3 separate regions of the Homo sapiens genome follow, and regions 1 and 3 are each linked to region 2. Evidence: promoter capture Hi-C in human tissues and cell types (Jung and others, 2019). All regions are on one chromosome and are shown on one strand. The core of a region is centred on a gene start or on the middle of the fragment in contact, and the rest is flanking DNA. Distances in the headings are between cores, read along the strand shown. Region 1 holds the start of BNIP1 (BCL2 interacting protein 1). Region 2 holds the start of SH3PXD2B (SH3 and PX domains 2B). Region 3 has its middle 6.5 kb from the start of ATP6V0E1.

Evidence for each region. The method cuts DNA at HindIII sites, captures the fragments that hold promoters and counts their contacts. A contact is called where the count stands out against the background at its distance.
Region 1: the fragment with the promoter of BNIP1 here is called in contact with the fragment with the promoter of SH3PXD2B in region 2 in 1 of the 25 tissues and cell types used here (mesenchymal stem cells).
Region 3: a fragment that was not itself captured here is called in contact with the fragment with the promoter of SH3PXD2B in region 2 in 1 of the 25 tissues and cell types used here (IMR-90 fibroblasts).

Annotation. Positions count from the first base shown.
Region 1 is chr5:173,142,714-173,146,060 of GRCh38, reverse strand. It overlaps BNIP1 (BCL2 interacting protein 1), which reads right to left and starts at 1,530. Exons shown (of 6, transcript NM_001205.3): 1 at 1,432-1,530. The coding sequence starts at 1,515. RefSeq lists enhancers at 798-867, 809-1,337. The HindIII fragment of the contact is 15,478 bases long and covers 1-3,347 here.
Region 2 is chr5:172,453,243-172,456,502 of GRCh38, reverse strand. It overlaps SH3PXD2B (SH3 and PX domains 2B), which reads left to right and starts at 1,978. Exons shown (of 13, transcript NM_001017995.3): 1 at 1,978-2,225. The coding sequence starts at 2,151. RefSeq lists an enhancer at 2,491-3,012. The HindIII fragment of the contact is 19,152 bases long and covers 1-3,260 here.
Region 3 is chr5:172,975,484-172,978,963 of GRCh38, reverse strand. It overlaps the pseudogene LOC285591. Among named protein-coding and RNA genes, the nearest start is that of ATP6V0E1, 6.5 kb to the left of the region's middle. The HindIII fragment of the contact is 5,706 bases long and covers 1-3,480 here.

The DNA.
Region 1 (3,347 bases), core at 281-2,780, 690 kb before region 2:
TACAGAAGAATGCCTAAGCAATTTAGATTATGTGAAAATGTAATTTCATTTGTATGAAACCTGTTTATTTTTCTATAATTGGCCCAGAAGTTTTGTAATGTATACATCAGAGAAGTGAAGTTCAAGAAGTTTTAAATATCTGCATCAAATTTCACTTTTTCTCTGGCTTATTCATTTAATCACACTTCTTTGCACCGTATTTGTTTATTCTGCATCTAATTTGGTTTATTCTGCATCTGGTTTATCTGGGGAGCCCTATTTTCCTGCACTTTTTGCCACACCTTGTTACAAACTCTGAGTCTACATCTAATGTTTAGTGACTTTGTTGAAAATGATTATTTTTAAAAACCAAGGTTTAGGCCGGGCGCGGTGGCTCACGCCTGTAATCCCAGCAATTTGGGAGGCCGAGGCGGGCGGATCACGAGGTCAGGAGATCGAGACCATCCTGGCTAACACGGTGAAACCCCGTCTCTACTAAGCAAAACACAAAAATTAGCCGGGCGTGGTGGCGGGTGCCTGTAGTCCCAGCTACTCAGGAGGCTGAGGCAGGAGAATGGCGGGAACCCGGGAGGCGGAGCTTGCCGCGAGTCGAGATCGCGCCACTGCACTCCAGCCTGGGCGACAGAGCGAGACTCCGTCTCAAAAAAACAAAAACAAACAAGCAAAAACAAGGTTTAAAACTCGGTTTCTTTTTGCTGAACTCATGGAACCGTGTCTACACTCCCAATTCTTGCCTAAGTCCACTCGTTTATTTTACCTCTACCCTTAAATGGCTTAAGGCGAAACACTTCATTTCCTATCTGTTCAAACGGGGTAACACTCTAAGGTGTTATTCCTAGGTTGACTTTCACAGTCCAGGTCCCAGTTTTGCCACTGACCCAGGTATGCCTTCTAACCTAGGCCTTGGCGCCGTACTCGATTTCCTCAAGCATAAAATCACAACTACGGTCCAGGTTACATTCGTTTCACCCGGTGCCTCCCGTGCCAGGTGGCCTTGGATGCCAGGAGAGCTGGCCAGCAGGGGGCGGGGCTAGCTGCCTCCCGGACGCTACCAGAGGATGCTGAAGCAGCGTCAGAGGGCGGGGCCAAGCAGGGTGACAGGTAGGTTGTGAGGTAGTCAGGGGCGGGGCGACGACCAGGGCTGCAGGTGGAAGGGGCAAAGCCGAGCCCCGAAGCAGTAGCTGAGTCAGGGGCGGAGAACAGTGGGGTGCTCTGGGGATGGGAGATCCGGCGGCACCCGGAAAAAGGATCAAGGCCAGCAGTCACCGGGACACAACCAAATGGGGACCGGGGGGGTAGCCGACCATGGGGCGGAGCCTGTGGTCTGGGAAACCAAGTGGGGAAAGTTCGGGAGTGACACTGCCAAGCTCACAGACCAGCAGAGCTTGGGTTAGGGCTGCTGGAGCCCGGCAGGGGTCCCGGGATCAGTACCTGAATAAGCGCCTTCACCTCCAGGTCAAATTTGACAATCTCTTGGTTACAGATCCGGACGTGGACGTCTTGGGGAGCCGCCATGTTGGGGACGCCGGCTACGGGCAGCGGCAGGACCCAAGTTCAAACGCGTTTTCGCACCACCTTCTTTCCCTCCCCACCCAGTCTCGGGGCAGCGCCCCCTAGAGACCGGCGAAAATGGCAAGCGAGGGTCACTGCGCAGAGTTGGGACTTTCCCTGACACGTGTAGGGAAATCAGCCTCTCCTCTTGGTATGGCCCTAATAACATGGAGAGGAAGGGAAGAGGGAATATCAAGAACGCTTCACAGTGGTCTCTTTCCATCTTCCTTCTGTCAGGCATTCTAATAACTATATATTTTTTACATAGAAAAAAAAAGACTGGAAGAAAAGTATCAATTGAGATGTCTCTGGAAAGTACCAGTAATAATTTTTTGTTTCTTCAAACTTTCTTATATTTTTAATATTTTCTACAGTGAGTATAAATTGTGGAGTAAAAGAGGAAATGATAAACGTCATATATTTTTTAAAGTATGGAGTTCAAGGCAGGTCGGTAGAGTACCTCCTATCACTCCAACACATGATCTAAGGGATCTTTGTAAAACACGAAATTGATCAAGTCACCTACCTGTATGCAGCCCTTCTATGGCTTCTCGTGTTTCCCTTTTGTATACAACTGGATTTATTAAATCTACCTTGCTAAGGTAGTTTTGATGGAAATGTCAGAGCAAACCCTCAACAAATGGTGGCTCTTTTATTTTTGTTAGTAAATAATCCAAGTTTCTTAGCTGGTCCTCAAGGCCATCAGCCACCCCGGCCATCAGCCACCGCACCCTGCGCCCTTCCTGGATTGCTCAAGCTCCTTCTGGATGTGTAGCCTTAGAATGTGGTGTTCCCTCTCCCTAGAAAGCGTTTCCCCCACTCGACCCCACTCCATCTGCATTTGTTCGGGTCACTTCAGCAAGCATAGATTGTGAGGACCTAAAGGCTTAGGACTTGAATGTTCATCTCTCTCTCTTTTTTTTTTTTTTTTTTTGTGGCGGAGTCTCGCTCTGTTGCCCAGGCTGGAGTGCAATGGCACAATCTTGGCTCACTGCAAACTCTACCTCCCAGGTTCAAGCAATTCTCCTGCCTCAGCCTCCTGAGTAGCTGGGATTACAGGTGCGTGCCACCATGCCCAGCTAATTTTTGTATTTTTCATAGACACGGGGTTCACCATATTGGTCAGGTTGGTCTCGAACTGACCTCGTGATCCACCCGCCTCGGCCTCCCAAAGTGCTGGGATTACAGGCGTGAGCCACTGTGCCCGACCATGTTCATCTCTCTTAATCCTCACAACCACCCTTGAAATTGTACTACACTATTATCACAGATCAGGAGTAGGGCTTAGAGTAAATTAAAACAAAAAACAATCAACCCTGTTGCAAGATTACCTATCTTGAAAGTGGCAAAGCCTAGGCCGGGCACGGTGGCTCATGCCTGTAATCCCAGCACTTTGGGAGGCCGAGGCGGGTGGATCACGAGGTCAAGAGATCGAGATCATCCTGGCTAACACGGTGAAACCCCGTCTCTACTAAAAATATAAAAATTAGCCGGGCGTGGTGGCGGACGCCTGTAGTCCCCGCTACTTGGGAGGCTGAGGCAGGAGAATGATGTGAACCCAGGAGGTGGAGCTTGCAGTGAGCCGAGATCGCCCCACTGTACTACTCCAGCCTGGGCGACAGAGCAAGACTCCATCTCAAAAAAAAAAAAAAAAAAAGAAAAAAGAAAGAAAGAAAGTGGCACAGCCTCTACTGAAAGCCATCTTTTCCCCAAAAAATCAATATGGTCCCCACCTGTTGTAAGCGGGGCTATGTGCTTGTCTGTGTCCCTACAGCCCTCTACACACCCTCTCGTAA
Region 2 (3,260 bases), core at 729-3,228:
AATGCACGATGTGGCAGGGACGGAAAAGCAGACCTTCACTTCTTTGGACATTTCCAATGAGGCCTCAGGACCCTCTGGCTTGGGACTGTACTTCAGAAGAATGTGCCTTACAGGAATTACATGAGTGAGGGTCCTGGCACCGAACAGATGCCACCCTCAAGCTGGGTCCATGAAGACAGTTTAGTAAAGGGTCAATGTATACGGGTGTGGGCGGGGCTAAGGAAGCACCGAGGATGGCGTAGTACCCAGGGCTTGCAACAGCAAGACTGTCACTGTCCTGAGCAGAAAAGTGGCTTCAGGAACCCTGAGAGAGACCATGTGAGAAAGGGCACCTTTGGTAAAAACAATCGGGGAGGAGGGGCTTAGGGATTAAATACCCAGACCTCCCTCTCTCCTCTTGCCCTCAATCTCCTGCCAGGCCCTTCCACTGGCCAAGCCAAACAGGAAGACCAGGACAGAGAGCTGTCAGTGAAATCCACACAGGCCAGCCTCTGGGGCTGGAGCAGGATGGTAAAGTCTGGCAAGGAAGTCAGAGGAGCAAATGGAGGGGCGGATCCAAAGTGAATCAGCCCAAATCATCCACGTGGCCTGGCCGAGGCTGAGAGCCGTCCTACCCTGGATAAGCCCACCCTTTTCCAAAGGCTGATCCTGGACCGGGGTGGGAAGTAGCTCTGTCGTGGCATGGAGAAGAGTCGTACGGTTTGTTGAAAAGAGCCCCCACTTACTGGCTGTGAAAACACTGGCCAGGAGCCTAAACCTCCCATCCATGCATTATATATTCATTTATCCATTCATTCAGCCAACATCTCCTGAAAGTGACTCAGTGCCCAGCCAGTGCTAGGAGGCACTAGATGAAGAAACGAGGAGCTGCCCCAGCCACGGCAGCTTCAACGTGTGAGATCCACCTAGAGCCAGGCAGTGACGGGCTCCATCCACCGGCTCCCTGACTCTGGACCTTCACTGATGTAATTCCTGTAAGGCACATTCTTCTGAAGTACAGTTCCCAAGTCAGAGGGTCCTCAGGCCTCATTGGAAATGTCCAAATGTCTGGAGGCCGTCCTCTGTAAAAACACCTTTTCCTCCTAGAGTCTGCCTGAGGATGCAAAGACAGCATTTGTGAAAAGCAGGGGCCACGGGGCCCAGCGAGCAGTTAAGTGCTCCGCAACTGGAAATCGATGGCCTTGCTAACAAGCACCCAGCTGCCCCTCACACATAGTCACCACCCTTTTATCCCCTTTTGTTGCTTCCATGGCAATTACATTGCACGTATGCGCATTTGTTGCAGTTTTTCTCTCCCTCACTCCCCATGTCCCAGACTGAGGCTGGGGGAACCTGGTCACGGGTCTCTTGCTCCTCCTGAATCACCAGGGCTTGGGGTGGCTTTAGGAACGCCAGCACTCATACCATGGACTGCACTGCGGAATGGCTTCACATGCACTTAATCCCGGGCGCAGCACCGGCAGGCAGGCGGTACTACTGACACGTGCTACAACATGGATGAGCCTTGAGGACATTATGCCGAGTGAAATAAGCCAGACACAAAAAGACAAACATGGTGCTTGTACTACTAGGCTCATATTATAGACGAAGAGACCCAACCCAGAGAGGTTAAGCAACTTGCCGAGGGCACAGAGTGGAAAAGCGGCAAAGCCGGGATTCGAACCCGGGTGTCCGGCTCTCCAAACTGGCGGTGGATGGCGGCTGCCGGAGCGAGAGTGCTGGAATGAATCGATACGTCAATCAGTGAACGGGCGACGGGGTCAGTCCAGTCCCCTCCCCCGGCGCGGCGGCTCAGCACCGGGACAAAGGCCGGGCGGGGGCCGGACGTGGCCGGCGGGGTTCGCGCGCGGTGGGCGGGGGTCGGGGCCGGGCCCTTTAAGGGGGGCGGGCCGGCGGCGCGGGGGGCGGTGCGGGGGGCGGTGCGGGGGGCGGTGCGGGGGGCGGGCCGGGGGCGGGCGGCGGCGGCTGGGCCCGGCTGGAGTGCGCGCCGAGCGAAGGGCGGCGGCGGTGGCGGCGGCGGCTCGTGCTCGGCCCCGGCTGCGATTGCGCTCAGCTCCAGGTTCCCTGCCCGCGGCGGCGCGCCCCCAGCGCTCCCTGCACCCCGCGCCACCCGCACCCGCGCTCGGCCCGCTGCGGGCGGAGGAGCGGCCATGCCGCCGCGGCGCAGCATCGTGGAGGTGAAGGTGCTAGACGTGCAGAAGCGGCGGGTGCCCAACAAGCATTATGTGAGTGCGGCGCGGCCCCCACGCCCCCTTGAGCCCGCGCCCCGTCGGGGGCGACCGAGGGCCCCCGGCTTGGAAAACTTCTGCCTCCAGCGCTTCCCGTCCCCTCCTCCCCTGCTCTCCCCTCGGCTCTGCGGCGGCGCTGCCCGGGTCCCTCCCGACTCCTCCTCCCTCCCTCCCCTCCCCTCCCCGCTTTTGCCTCGTTCTCCCCCTCCATCCCTTCCTCCCGCCTCGCCCCCCTACTCGCCTCCCTGCGGCTCCTCTACCCCTTTCTGTCTTCTCCGTGTCCCCCCAACTCCCGTCCTGCTCATCTGTGGAAAAGTCTGGCTCCAGCCGGTGAGGGGTCTGAGACAGAAAGCGGGAGAGACAGAAGTGCCTGTTCTCAGGCCGCCCGCCTTGCCCCTCCTTGTCCAGAGGCGCGCAGACCCGCAGTCCCCAGCCACAGGTAGCCCCTCTAGGGTTCGCCGAATTTGACTCCGTTCTTTGGCAAGAGCCGGCCTGGGCGATGGAGGAGATCTCTGGGAATGGATCATTTGAGTGGCTACGCCTTTAAAGGGTTAAAAACATCCCCTGCCCCCTCTCTCCAGTAACTTCTGTTTTAAAATGTACGAAAGTTTTCTCCTGGCATCTCCCTCTGGAACATGGGAATCTTGTTTGGAGCTGGCAAGGACTTGAGAAAATGGGACAGTAGCGTCGTTTTGCAGATAGGAAGGCTGAGGCTCAGAGGTTGCAGGTCCTGGAACATAGAGCTGCATTCGGGCTTCCCTCCCTCCAGCAGGGGTGCCTGGGGCTGACGGTGACCTGCAGGTGGAAAGTGGCTTCCGCAGCAACCTAGGGGACACGTCTGCAGATTCAGGAGGCCCTGGGACCACCTCGCAGGTTCTAGGTGGAGATAAAGGGGATGTGGGGTGATGGGCCCACATGAGGCCTTGGGGAGGGCCTCATTACAGCAGGGAAGGGGGCTATAGTGTCTCTGGCGGTGAGAAGTGGGCAGTGGCGGAGCCTGGCTGCAGAGAAGTTAACCAGGAAGGGAAAAAG
Region 3 (3,480 bases), core at 884-3,383, 520 kb before region 2:
ATGTGGGCTAGCATTAGCCTATAGCTCCCTCTATCAGCCAGTCTGTCAAAAGCATTTTATCACACACCAAATGAAAACTGTCCCCATTCAGTGACCCATCAAATGAAGAGATACTGTCTGCCCTCAAGGTGCTAAAGTCTTCAGGAAACAAATCAGACTCTGGACAGTGTGGTCCAAGGACCCTTGGGGAGTCCCTGAGACTCCCCAAGCAGGTCTTTTTCTTTCTTTCTTTCTTTTCTTTCTTTTCTTTCTTTTCTTTCTTTTCTTTCTTTTCTTTCTTTTCTTTCTTTTCTTTCCTTTCTTTCCTTTCTTTCCTTTCTTTCTTTCTTTCTTTCTTTCTTTCTTTCTTTCTTTCTTTCTTTCTTTCTTTCTTTCTTTCTTTCTTTCAGATGGAGTCTTACTCTGTCACCCAGGCTAGAGTGCAGTGGCGTGATCTCGGCTCATTGCAACCTCCATTTCCTGGGTTCAAGCAATTCTCCTGCCTCAGCCTCCCATGTAACTGGGATTACAGGCGACTGCCACTGCTCCCAGCTAATTTTTGTATTTGTAGTGGAGGTGGGGTTTTACCATCTTGGCCAGGCTGGTCTCAAACTCCTAACCTCGTGATCCACCCACCTTGGCTTCCCAAAGTGCTGGGATTACAGGCATGAGCCACCATGCCTGGCCACCCCAGCAGGTCTTTTCTAACTGTGAATCTCTGTAAGGCTGAATTTTCTTCCTGTAGTTCATCTAAAACAACATATCACATCAGATTGAATGCAGTAGTATTATGAGAATGCATTTGTCTTCTATTAAACCAGAGGTCAAGGCGTTCTCCCAAAATGTAACACAATGTTACTCTTCCAACCACATGTTTTGTTAGTTTTGGAAAAAACAGCTATTTCTCATATAAATGTTATGTTAACATGTTATGGGTTTCTTGTTGCTCTTTTTGTATGAATTTAAAATAAATATGTTGGCCAGATGCAGTGACTCGCGCCTATAATCCCAGTGCTTTGGGAGGCTAAAGCAGGAGGATCACTTGAGGCCAGGAGTTCCAGAGCAGCCTCGGCAACATAGTGAGACCTCCATCTCTACAAGAAACAATTTTGATGTGGTGTTATCTCCTGTAGTCCTAGCTACTTAGGAGGCTGAAGAGGGAGGATTGCTTGAACCCACAAGTTCAAGGTTACAGTGAGCTATAATTGCACCATTGCACTACAGCCTGGGTGAAGACTGAGATCTTGTCTCAAATAATAATAATAATAATATAATAAAATTAATATGTTAAAATTTGAAGTTTTAATTTCTAACATGACAAATATCAATAGCTATAACCTATATAAATGTAAGTCCCTTGGGTCCTCCATAGTTTTTAAATATGTAAACAGGTCTTGAGACCAAAAAGTTTGAGAAGCACCACTAGAGGAAAAACCTCAGAGGCCCCCCAGCAGCATCAAGGAAACAAGAGTTGACTGAAACACTATTGTGCAACGAGCTGAGGAGCCCTTCTTTCCTAAACTCAGTCCTGTAGGTAAAAACAGGCATGCAGAGTCACGAAGATATGGTGTCATAAAGCCCCTTTCCAAGCTACTCTGGAAGCTTGGAAGTTACTGGGGCAGCTGAAAACCCTAGCAGGATTTATTACTCCTTAGCCCAGTAGTGTATATGGAATGTGCACTGTGTATGGCCACCAGTACTACTGCTGCCACCGTTGCTGGAGTGATTGCCACCTGCCAGACATTGGACTAGGTGCTTTGAATTATCTGTCTCATTTAATGCTCACGACACTGAATATAGGTATTTTTAAATCTATTGTACATAATTTTAAAAGGCTTAGATTTGGTTTATTTATTTATTTATTTATTTTTGAGACAGAGTCTTGCTCTGTCTCACCCAGGTTGGAGTGCAGTGGCGCGATCTTGGCTCACTGCAGGCTTCACCTCCTGGGTTCAAGCGATTCTCCTGTCTCAGCCTCCTGAGTAACTGGGATTACAGGTGCCCGCCACCACAACTGGCTAGTTTTGTATTTTTAGTAGAGACAGGGTTTCACCATGTTGGCCAGGTTGGTCTCAAACTCTTGACATCAGGTGATTCACCTGCCTCGGCCTCCCAAAGTGCTGGGATTACAGGTGTGAGCCACTGCACCCAGTCCTAAAAGGCTTGTAACTTGTAATTTGTAACTTGTCCAAAGCATAGCTGTTTTCAGTGACAGAGCTTGGATCTGAACACGGCTCTTTGTAGCTCCTGTTCTTCCCACTAAGCCATGTTGCCTCTCCTATTTCTTTTTTTTTAAGCAAAATAATTTTATTTCCTAACATATGGTAACATATACATCCAATATGTGCTCCCCTTGCACATCTATTCACAAGTGACTTCCAAATGACAACTGCCTTGATATTTAAGCACGTGCTGAAAGTTATCTTAGTTGAGATATGAAAAATGCTTTAGATGGGTAATGTTCTGAGTACATGGGATTGGTCACAGCAGAATTTACTTAGATGAGTTCTACACATTTAAAGCTTTGAAAAGCTACTATTTTACATCTAATACATCCAGATGAACACGATGCAGCAATATCAGCTTGTATTCCAGAGAAATCCCATTAGTTCTTCTGGTGATGGAACCACGTATCCACGTCTGTTGGTACTGTGCAGGCAGATTCACAGGGTGGTGGTAAAGCATCCACAATGGCTCTGGCAGCATCAGGATCACACTTGAACAGGCTCTCAGACACAGTTTTGTTCATGCAGCTGATTCCTTTTCCATTCATTTTCTTAGTCACTAATGCTTTCCAATGGTCATGAGTGCTTTTAATAATATCAATTGCAAAGTCCTTATCTTCAAATTCTGCATTAAAACAAACTCATTTTCTGGTTTTCCATCAGGAACCTTATACCTTCTAAACCAGTCCACAGTAGCCTCTAAGTAGCCGGGTTTCAGCCGTTTGACATCACTGATATCAGTATAATTGCCTGCATCAGGATCATCCATATTAATGGCAATGACTTTCCAGTCGGTTTCCCCTTCGTCAATCATAGCCAATATGCCTAGAACTTTCACACCAATTATTTCACCTCTTGCACATACCTTGCTTCCAATTTCACACACATCAATTGGGTCATTGTCACCACAACAGCCAGTATGTTTATCATTGTGCCCTGGGTCTTCCCAAGTCTGAGGGATGGCACCATAGTTCCAGACATATCCTTTATACGGGAACAAATTCGCAACATAGCGAAGTTTTCTTTTTTTCACATCTTGTTTAATGGGGTTTAAAGGGTCCTTTGTAGCAACCTCCATTTTTGCATTAGACCACAGTGGTACTTCAACTACCACGTGGAACACATCCTTATCTGCATAAATTGGAATATCTTGAAATGGAGACATATATTGTCCTTTCTCATTTTTGAGGAAGACTCGGTACTTCAGGGAGAAGGGCGTGGCGCGCTCCTCAGTGCTGAAGCCGCTCATGGTGCCGGAGTCCAGCCGCCACCACTG